3 separate regions of the Homo sapiens genome follow, and all the other regions are linked to region 2. The links are contacts of gene promoters, found by promoter capture Hi-C in blood cells and fetal thymus (Javierre and others, 2016). All regions are on one chromosome and are shown on one strand. The core of a region is centred on a gene start or on the middle of the fragment in contact, and the rest is flanking DNA. Distances in the headings are between cores, read along the strand shown. Region 1 overlaps RASAL2 (RAS protein activator like 2). Region 2 holds the start of AXDND1 (axonemal dynein light chain domain containing 1). Region 3 overlaps RASAL2 (RAS protein activator like 2).

The links. Contacts are between HindIII fragments. The CHiCAGO score rates a contact against its expected background, and 5 or more counts as called.
Region 1: a fragment that was not itself captured here is called in contact with the fragment with the promoter of AXDND1 in region 2 in 2 of 17 cell types (naive B cells and total B cells); the score reaches 8.9 in naive B cells.
Region 3: a fragment that was not itself captured here is called in contact with the fragment with the promoter of AXDND1 in region 2 in 2 of 17 cell types (naive B cells and total B cells); the score reaches 8.8 in naive B cells.

The regions. Positions count from the first base shown.
Region 1 is chr1:178,290,721-178,294,173 of GRCh38, forward strand. The region is part of intron 2 of RASAL2 (RAS protein activator like 2); the gene reads left to right. Among named protein-coding and RNA genes, the nearest start is that of RASAL2, 200 kb to the left of the region's middle. The HindIII fragment of the contact is 865 bases long and covers 1,763-2,627 here.
Region 2 is chr1:179,364,346-179,368,036 of GRCh38, forward strand. AXDND1 (axonemal dynein light chain domain containing 1) reads left to right here and starts at 1,626. Exons shown (of 26, transcript NM_144696.6): 1 at 1,626-1,655; 2 at 2,059-2,261. The coding sequence starts at 2,165. RefSeq lists enhancers at 1,177-1,576, 1,957-2,026. The HindIII fragment of the contact is 9,843 bases long and covers 1-3,573 here.
Region 3 is chr1:178,309,728-178,312,910 of GRCh38, forward strand. All of the region lies in intron 3 of RASAL2 (RAS protein activator like 2), which reads left to right. Among named protein-coding and RNA genes, the nearest start is that of CLEC20A, 190 kb to the right of the region's middle. RefSeq lists a silencer at 987-1,281. The HindIII fragment of the contact is 6,190 bases long and covers 1-3,183 here.

The sequences.
Region 1 (3,453 bases), core at 945-3,444, 1.1 Mb before region 2:
GCTGAAGTGCGGTGGTGCGATCTCGGCTCGCTGCAAGCTCCGCCTCCTGGGTTCACGCCATTCTCCTGCCTCAGCCTCCCAAGTAGCTGGGACTACAGGCGCCCACCACCACGCACGGCTAATTTTTTTGTATTTTTAGTAGAGACAGGGTTTCATCGTGTTAGCCAGGATGGTCTCGATCTCCTGACCTCGTGATCCGCCTGCCTCAGCCTCCCAAAGTGCTGGGATTATAGGTGTGAGCCACCACACCCAGCCAAGTTTAGTTTTTAATTGTAATATAACCATAAGAGATTAACTGAGATATGGCCTAGGATGGATTATAGTATGGAGTGGAGAATGCCAAAAAAGTGTTTTACAGAGAAATTTATGCTTGGACTGTATCTTAAGGGACAAATAAGGGCTCATGAGGAGAAAAAGAAGGGAAGGACATTCTGAGTGTATATAATGATACAAAGTCAAGAAACATATGTCTCTTTGGCAAACTGAAAAATATTCAGAGTTCATGGAACATAGTTTGCAAGAGGAAAAGTGATAGCTAGCAAGAACTAGGTAATGAAGAACCTTGAAGGCTATGATGAGGAATTTGGATTTTATTCCGGAAATGATCTGGACCAGGGAAAGGGTATTTAGCAAGGTAATGACATCATCAGATTTGCTTCTTAGAGAAGTAACTCTGTGGATTATATGGAAAATGAAGTGAAAGGGATTAGAAGCAAATAGATGAGTTACAAGATTGCTGCAGTAGACCAGGTGAGGAATAATGAAGGGATAAATTTACAAAACAGTTTACAAAAACAGTTTAATGCCCTCAGACAGGTGTTTATGTTCTGCCATTATTATATGGGGAAAATTGAATTAAATCTCTAGGAAAAGAAAATGTGAAGCCATTGCTTTACATTGCTTTACTTGAATAAGTTTGATTTTCTGTTAATTTCATTACATGAAAAGATTATAAATCAATTTCTTGTGTAGGAACCAGAATATGCTGTCACCCTTCTACCTTTCACCCACACTTAAGAATTATAAAGAATGTGGGCCGGGCACGGCGGCTCACACCTGGAATCCCAGCACTTTTGGAGGCCGAGGCAGGTGGATCACGAGGTCAGGAGTTCGAGACCAGCCTGACCAATATGGTGAAATCCTGTCTCTACGAAAAATACAAAAATTAGCTGGACATGGTGTCGGGTGCCTGTAACCCCAGCTACTCGGGAGGCTGAGGCAGGAGAAATCCTTTGAACTCGGGAGGTGGAGGTTGCAGTAAGTTGAGATCGCACCATTGCACTCCAGCCTGGGTGACTGGGCAAGACTTTGTCTCAAAAAAAAAAAAAAAAAAAAAAGAATTATAAAGAATTTAACTCTTAATCCTTGGAATTTTGCATTGAATAATTTAGAATTTCTTAAAATGAGTTTAAGGAATTTCCTGCTAAAATTATCTAAAAAGATGGTTTTAAACTTTAATTAAATCATCATGGGGGTGTTTATTGCTGTGTTAAAAAATTAATTAAAAGGGTTCTGTAAGGATTTAAACTGAATCCTTAGCCAGGCACTGCTGGAATGTGGGAGGATTATATTAGTCTAGTATCACTCATGTATTAAGTCAGTGTGTGGCATCTTTTAATGCTTTCTCTTAACTCTACATGTTTCTTGTCAGAACTGGGGAAAAGTCTGTTTGAGGAGTATACATGGGAAGAGTGTTAAATATTCCAATGACCAATCTGGGAATGTGGCAGAAGGGTAGATTGGGGCAGAATGCTGAAAGAGAAGCTTGCTGGGAGTGTCACCTTGACAAATGACTTATTGGTTCAGTAAACTGCTTCATGCAAATTGTGCCAAATAGATATTGCTTATGTGCTATGAAATATACTTTCTTGCCTGGGTACCAGGAAAGGCCCCAACTGGCTTGATACCAGCCCAGTTCAAAGAGGGCACAGGAGGCCATTTGACTTTCATTTTGCTTGCAAGAGATGAGACCAAGTAAATTTGAGATTAAGGAGTTGAGGGAAATGGTAGAGAAGACAAACATGAACCCCTCAGAGGTACAGCCATTATAAAAATACAAAAGCTGAATTTATGAGTTTATTTCTTTTGGCAATAACAGTCTATTAGGCAGGGTCCATTTGACTCCATTTTTCTTAATGCAAACTCTACTTTCTATATTTAGAATGTTTAAGGCTGGATTCTGGTGTATAGGCAGCAAGGCATTTAAAATGACACTTTTAAATGTTTTAAAACATTTTTCTTTTGAAAGTGTTTACACTCAGATATGTTGATGAAAATATCAGTCTTTGTGCAAATAGCTAAAAATTAACTGGTATTTATTCTGGGGTGAGCTACCTATGGCATATTTCATTCAGAACCACTTTTAAATTATTCAATAGATATATAATATGCCCTTATATGTTATTCACTGTGTTAGGAGTTACAAAGCACAAGACAGATCTTCTTTCCTCTTTCTCCCCCGTAACAAATTTAGTGGTAAAAATAAGACAATTTTAAAGTGACATTTGATAAATAACACAAGTAAATGGATAGAATAAGAGAGAGAAATCCATTAATTATAAAAAGAACCTTAGCCTAACTAAATATGTCATTAAGATGCCACTGGCAATGGGGAATTACCAAAGGAAAGCTTAATAAAAGAAGCAATTTGATCAAAGTTAGGTGTTATAAATATTAATCTGTAGGACGTATTGGAAGAACAAGACACAGGAAACAGAACAATTAGGAGACTGCCAGTCCTTAGATCTAAAAGCTTGAGTGGCTTCTCAGTGCTCCCCATGCGTGGTCTGGTATTCCAGCCCTCCTAACATGTTCATAATATATTGTTCCATCCCTTTTCTCCCTATTAAGAGGCTCTAGCCAAATTGGCCTACTCCCTATTCCAAAACAAAACAAAAAAGTCATATACTTACCAGCTTCCTGGCTGATGTTATGCTTTTTCCTTTGCCTAAAATGGCCCCCATCTCTACCTATCATTCACTTATTTGTGAACTATTTTAAGGTTTGGGGATTTACTGGTAAAGTACAAGCTGTTAACTTACGTGGAATTAGTTGCATAAATGAATAATTATAATTTAACACAGTAAGTATAATGACAGAGAAAGATGTGTTACCGGAGAACTAAATGGAAGTGTACCTTGACCTTCCCTTAGGGGACTGATAGAGGAGGAAGATTCCTGGGAAATGCAAAGCCTGTCCTAAGCCTCAGGATGATTAGGAGTTTACCTTGCAGATGTAGAATAGAAAAGAAAGAGGGAAAACATTTCAGGAAGAGAGAACAAACTAAGCCATGGCACTGAACTACACAATAGGGAATGTATTAAAGAATTGCAAGCAATTTGGTATTTCTAGAATGAAGTCTAAAACTGAGCACACAGACAGAGACAGTGGCTGGATTGTGGAAAATCTGGTGTACTATATTAGGGAGCTTGCACTAATTTATAGGATAGTAGT
Region 2 (3,691 bases), core at 376-2,875:
CTACTAGGGAGGCTGAGGCAGGAGAATCGCTTGAACCTGGGAGGCGGAGGTTGCGGTGAGCCGAGATCGAGCCATTGCACTCCAGCCTGGGCAACAAGAGTGAAACTCCGTCTCAAAAAAGAAAAGAAAAGAAATGATCCCTCACCGAACCGAGCCTCAGTTCAGTGCGAAGGCTCTGATGATACTCTTTTTTTTTTTGAGACGGAGTCTCGTTCTGTTGCCCAGGCTGGAGTGCGGTGGCGCCATCTCGGCTCACCGCAACCCTTTCCTCCCCGGTTCAAGCGAATCTCCTGCTTCAACCTCCTGAGTAGCTGGGATTACAGGCGCGCGCCACCTCTCTTGGCTAATTTTTGTGTTTTTAGTAGAGACGGGGTTTCACCATGTTGGTCAGGCTGGTCTCGAACTCCTGACCTCGTGATCCACCCGCCTCGGCCTAAGAAAGTGCTGGGATTACAGGCGTGAGCCACCGGCCGCTGATGGTATTCTTTCCTGAGGGCAGATTTTCACGCCAGAAGCCCCGACAATTATACCTGAGCTGGTTCCACCTAAGCTCAATCCTCCTTCCCTGCCCCAAGGGGGTGAAAAATCTGGGCCCAGGAGGCCTTCCTTGTGCTCTGGGGGGAGGCATTTAAGGGTCCAAGGAAGACGTGACCGAAATGTAAAGCACTGGACGGCTTACCCAATAAGGGACCCAGCGTTTCTTATTACCCAACATCCCCCTGAGTCTGGCTTTTAGAAAAATATGCAAAGCGTCCGGGCGCAGTGGCTCACGCCTATGATCCCAGCACTTTGGAAGGCCGAGGCGGGCGCGGTCAGGAGTTTGAGACCAGCCTGGCCAATATGGTGAAACCCCGTCTCTACTAAAAATACAAAAATTAGCCGGGCATGGTGGCCCCCGCCTGTAGTCCCTCGGGAGGCTGAGGCAGGAGAATCGCTTGAACCTGGGAGGCGGAGGTGGCAGTGAGCTGAGATCGCACCATTGCACTCCAGCCAGCGCGACAGAACGAGACTCCGTCTCAAACAAAACAAAACAAAAAACAAACTACAAAATTAGCCGGGCATGGTGGCGTCTGCCTGTAGTCCCAGCTGCTTGGGAGGCTGAGGCAGGAGAATTGCTTGAACCCAGGAGGTGGAGGTTGCAGTGAGCCGAGATCGCACCATTAAACTCCAGCCTGGGCGACAAGAGGGAAATTCCGTCTCAGGGGAAAAAAAGAGAAAGAAAGAAAAAGAGGAAGAAAGAGAAAGAAAAATATGCAAAGCAACAAAAAAGAGAGCTAGAAAGATGGAAACAACTCAGAAGACCCTTGCTTAACCCGCGTGCGTCACGGGCTACAGGGGTCGGCCCCTCGAGCTAACCCCCACCGGCGCCTGCGCACTGGCCTGGCCCGCGGCAGGAAGCCCCGGCGTGAGACACTTTCGGATTCCGTGACAACGGCGGGATTAAACGTTTTTCTTCTCCTTTGCTACTGAACCTATGCTGTGACTTAGAACATAAGAAACTCCAAGAGGGTGTAGGGATTGTCTTAGCTGTCTCCCTCCTCCGCCGGCACCGCTGAAGGCAGCCCCTATGGAGGGCGCTAAACCTCGGGGCCCTGGGTTTCTATGACGACAAACAGGCGTTCCAGCAAAGGAGGAAGTGAGCGGATGCTGGGCGGGTACGCAATGTGTGGGTAGGATCGCGGGTGTCCCTTTCCCGTCATTTTAAACCAAGAAGCAGTGCGAGGCCTGCCCAACTCGCGAGTTTGTGGAACTGGCGCGCGAGAGCGCTGCCTGTGGGGAAGGTATGGTCCCCAGCCGAGCCGCCTGCAGCGAGTGTCCCCCACCAGGGGTGCCGGCGGTCTGCGGGGTCCGCCGAGCGGGTCCTTCCTGCCCTGCTCCTTGACCCCGACCTGACGGTCCACTAAGGCTTCTTAGTCGCTACACATAACCCCAGAACATAGAGGTCGCCCCGAAGAAGGAGAACCATGCTAGATGAATTCTAAACTGCGATCTGAACCTAAGTACTCAATAGTTGTCATCTTTTTTTTTTTTTTTAAATCTTTTTTCCTCTGCCTGCAGGACTATGTGGCAGCCTGCAAGTCCCAGTGCGGCGCTGATTTGTGTCTAAATTAGCTTTCCGGAGGACTATTTCAAATTACTAAAGAGATAGGAGGCATTGTTTATTATGTCTCTCCCGAAAACGCCCTCCACCCCGCTAAACTCTACATCAACATCTGAGAGCAAAAAGTTAAAAGTGTCTGTAGCCAAGGAAGGGACAAGAGGTAAACTTCGTTGATTCTGAAGTCATAAACAGTCATGGCCGTAAGACAGAAATCACCTTCCATTCACCGGTTTTTTAAATCTGATATTCAGAATACCTTGATTGGCTACATTTTTCTAACACACTTGCTTAAATAAAGCAAGAAGTCATTCCTTTTACAGTATTTTGAGTCAGAGTACTGTTTCACTACTCCATCTAAATACAGTTTATACTTTTTTTCAAATGTTGATTTATATATGATTTTAAATTCAACCTATTTTAAATATCAATAGTTACGTATTTTTTGGTTCCTGGTCTTTGGCTTTAAGGAACTTTGGAAAAAGTAATAGTGAGGCAGGGCGCGGTGGCTCACGCCTGTAATCCCAGCACTTTGGGAGGCCGAGGTGGGCGGATCACTTGAGGTCAGGAGTTCGAGACCAGCCTGGCCAAATATGATGAAATCCCGTCTCTACTAGAAATACAAAAATTAGCCGGGCATGGTGGCTCGCGCCTGTAGTCCCAGCTTACTCTGGAGGCTGAGGCAAGAGAATCGCTTGAACCCAGGAGGTGAGGTTGCAGTGAGCCAGGATCGAGCCATTGCATTCCAGTCTGGGAGACAAGAGCAAGACCCCATCTCAAAATAAATAAATAAATAGGCCGGGCACAGTGGCTCACACCTGTAATCCCATTTGGGAGGCTGAGGCTGGCGGATCACGAGGTCAAGAGATTGAGACCATTCTGGCCAACATGGAGAAACTCTGTCTACTAAAAATACAAAAATTAGGGGGGGCGTGGTGGCTCGTGCCTGTAGTCCCAGCTACTCAGGAGGCTGAGGCAGGAGAATCGCTTGAACCCGGGAGGTGGAGGTTGCAGTGAGCCGAGATTGCGCCACTGCACTCCAGCCTGGCGACAGAACGAGACTCCGTCTCAAATCACGAGGTCAGGAGTTTGAGACCAGCCTGACCAACGTGGTGAAACCCGGTCTCTACTAAAAATACAAAATTTAGCCTGGTGTGGTGGCACTCGCCTGTAATCCCAGCTACTCGGCAGGCTGAGGCAGGAGAATCACTTGAACCCGGGAGGCAGAGGTTGCAGTGAGCCAAGATCTTGCCACTGCACTCTAGCCTGGGCAACAGAGGTAGACTTGGTCTCAAATAAGTAAATAAAGAAACAAAAAGTAATAGCAGAGATAAGAGAAACTCAATTTAGTACAATGTGCCAATTTGTATTAGCTTTTAGTAATTTTTCTAAATGAGAGCAATTCCTTAAGATTTTCGTTCATATGCGGATCTGTACTAGAGTCAGCTAGTGTTATCCTTACCCGGTTCTGTTAAAGCTTTTCCCATCTCACCTGCACCTTGTACTAAAACCCCAAGCCCCACCCAACTTTTTTTTTTTTCTTCTGTTTCTTTTGATCTCAAGCTCTCAGGAGATTTGGTAATGTAAACCCTA
Region 3 (3,183 bases), core at 610-3,109, 1.1 Mb before region 2:
GGTCAGTAACACACAAAAAAGTGATAAAACTAGGTTTCAAATACTATAATGAATATAGCACTTTACCTTGAAAAAATCCTAAAGTTTCCTTGTGGTAGAGGGCATCAGACTAATTTGTAAGTGTATTTTGAATTGATAGAAGGAGGGTTATTTAAAAGCGGATAGAATGTTGTTACAACAGGCATGTTGGGTGTGGCTAATAACACTCATGCAGTGAACTGAGGCAGCTGGTAGATGTTTGAGGTGTATCTGAATATGAACATCTTGTATATTCAACATGGCTTGGTGAGTAGAGTTTCCTTTGTTCATTTAGTGTTTATTACAGATGAAATTTGTAAATTAGTGAGGACTCTGTTTTTATTCCCAAGACATTGTTAGAAATATCTAGATAATTTGTGAAATATTTTCAAGATGCTAGAATCTTCTATAAAACTACTGGATGATAATAGCATTGATAGACAGGATATGTGAGTAGTGAAGGTTGTGCATAAGGAAACACAGATTTTGTGTTATGTGCAAATTGTTACCTAAAATAAATCAATTGCAGTAGAACATTAAAGTTTTCAAAGCAAATATTATAACAGAACTGACCTTACTACCAATCTGATATAGTTAGATTTGCCCATTAGAAAGAAGTTTGCATTATTAGCCAATTAAATGCAAAAACTTCATTTACATTTGAACATTTTCCTGATTTTCTTTTGGAAGTAGTTAATTGGGTCTCAAAACTGACATGAATAAAATAAAAAAAAACTAGTACTTAAGTTCTCAAGCTAACCTACTAAAATCAATTTTACTGTTTGATTTTGTTACTTTTGTTACTCTTATGAGCTAGATTTTGATTAGCAGTAACATTTTTTTTCGATTGGGACATCAGTTCTCAATTCTAAGTTGAGGTGCGAGACCACAATTCTGCTGTAATTTGAAGTTTGGATTCCTAATTTGTTCTTTTATCTTCCATATTTTAGCACAGTGGAGATTTGTTTACTTCTGTGAAGGTGGCTCCAAGGCAGTGCTGCCACTTATGGTTGCTCAAACTGTTACCCAATTACCTGTCACTTGTTATCGCTGATTTGTAGCTGTTTCATAAAATTTCCAGTAGATGGCAGTAGAGTTTCTTCAATAAAGGACTCCCTTTCTAATTTGTGGAAGTCATTTGTATAGGCTATTGTCATGGTTACTGTTCCCAGTTTGTACAGTCAAGTTCTGTGGAAATGGGTGCCCAAGAAGACCAGAGTAGAGTACTCCAAAATGTGATACCCACACTAGAGGCTCCTCTTAATCAGCCCTAAGGCCAAGTTCTTAGGAAACCACTGTGGTGGTTGGAGAATCAGGTGGGAAGTAGGAATGATTTTTAGATTCAGCCTGGACATCTGGAGGAGATGAATGGCAGATTGAACACAAGCATCTAATTATACTCCTCCCAGAAACTCCACCAAACCTACTAAAGGTGTTTTATTTTAAAGACATGATCCATCAAGGATATGGAGAACGAGAAAGAAGAAAACAGCCATACACACACACAAACACACACACACACACACACACACACACACACACATTGAAAGCTGAAAAGCAAATAGAGTGTGGCAAATGACATAGCTTACTTAAGAAAGCCAAATCTTAACTTGGCTATGAAGAAGGCTAAAAATGAAGCTGACCTTTACCACAGAATCTTTAAATAGCTCAGGAATTGAGCCAGACATATGTGGTAGCAGATCCCCAGGTCTCCTCCTCTTCCCCATTCCACTGAACAACTGTTCTTCCTACCTATACCTCCACCTTAGTATAAGACTCCAAGTATACTCTTTGGAGGGAAAAAAAAAAGCCCAAGTATCTTTGGATTGGGAGATACTAGGCAAAATTGAGAACAGGGCATTTTACCACATATGAGGGAATTAGGTGAATATGTGCACGCTGAATGATGGGACTCCTCCACCTTTCTTCTCTCACTTGCCTTTACCCTACAGGCAGGAGATTAGTAGAATACCCCTTGGTGTATTTAGCCCAAGAAGAAAGATCTAAGAATACCAACTTTCCCAAGATTAGTGGACATCTGAAGAAAAGCCTGAAAGAGAGAGACTAAAACATACAAAAAAAGAAGAAGAAGAAAAGAAAAAGAAAAAAGGGAAAAAACAACTTGGAGGTAGAGACTAGGCAGGGAACAGAAAACTTTAAAAAAATGATTGATATCCTCAGAAAGATAGGATGTTACATACATGAAACAAGAACAGAATGTTTTACAAAGTTGAGCTTTTGTCTACTAAAAAATTAGAATATAAAACTCAATATAAGGGTTGGAAAATGGAATTGAGAAAATAGAAAGTGGAGAGAAAAAAAAGATAAAATAATGAGAGGACCAGTCTAGGAAGTTGAATATCAAAACAACAATTCCAGAAAAAGGGAAAGAAAGGGAGCAAAACCCTAGCAAAATAATTTCAGGAAATTTCCCACCACTGAAAGATATGTGTTTCCAGATTGAAAGGGCTTACTGAGTTCCCATGACAAGTCACATTTCATGAAATTCTAAATTGTCTCTAGTGACAAGAGACAGTCTTACAAACCTGCAAAAAAAGGGAAATTGGAGTACATACAAAGGATCAGAAAGGCTGCGGACTTACAATAAGCAATATCAGAAGCTAGAGAACAATGAGGAATGCCCTCAAAATTCTGAAGGAAATTTTTTTCCAGTCCAGAATTGTATATTTAGCTGTAAACTATTAGTCAAATTTGAGAATAGCATAAAGACATTTTCAGACATGCAAGACTCAAAAAAGATTACCTCCTACACATCATTTTTCCTGAAGCTAATGAAAGATATGTTTTACTAAGAATGAGGACAGGAGATCTAGCACAGGGGAGAGAAAAAGGGAACTTTTAGTAGAATGCTAAAGACAGAACCAAGTTTAATAGCTCGGTACAAGATGTAGAATAAAGACAGCCAGTTCAGACTGGAGCAGCTGATAAGGCTGTAGCGAGACTTTCCAAGAACACAAAATTGATAAGTTAACTCAATCAGCGGAAACAATAGGAAGCGCATTTGTGGTTGAATTAACAATAAGCATATAGATATCTAAGCAAATGAATAATACAAGAGAACACTATAAGAGAAACAAAAAAGTAGCTCAGGACAAAGAGAACACTTCTATAGCACTTTTTATCATATTGGGCACTTTACATATA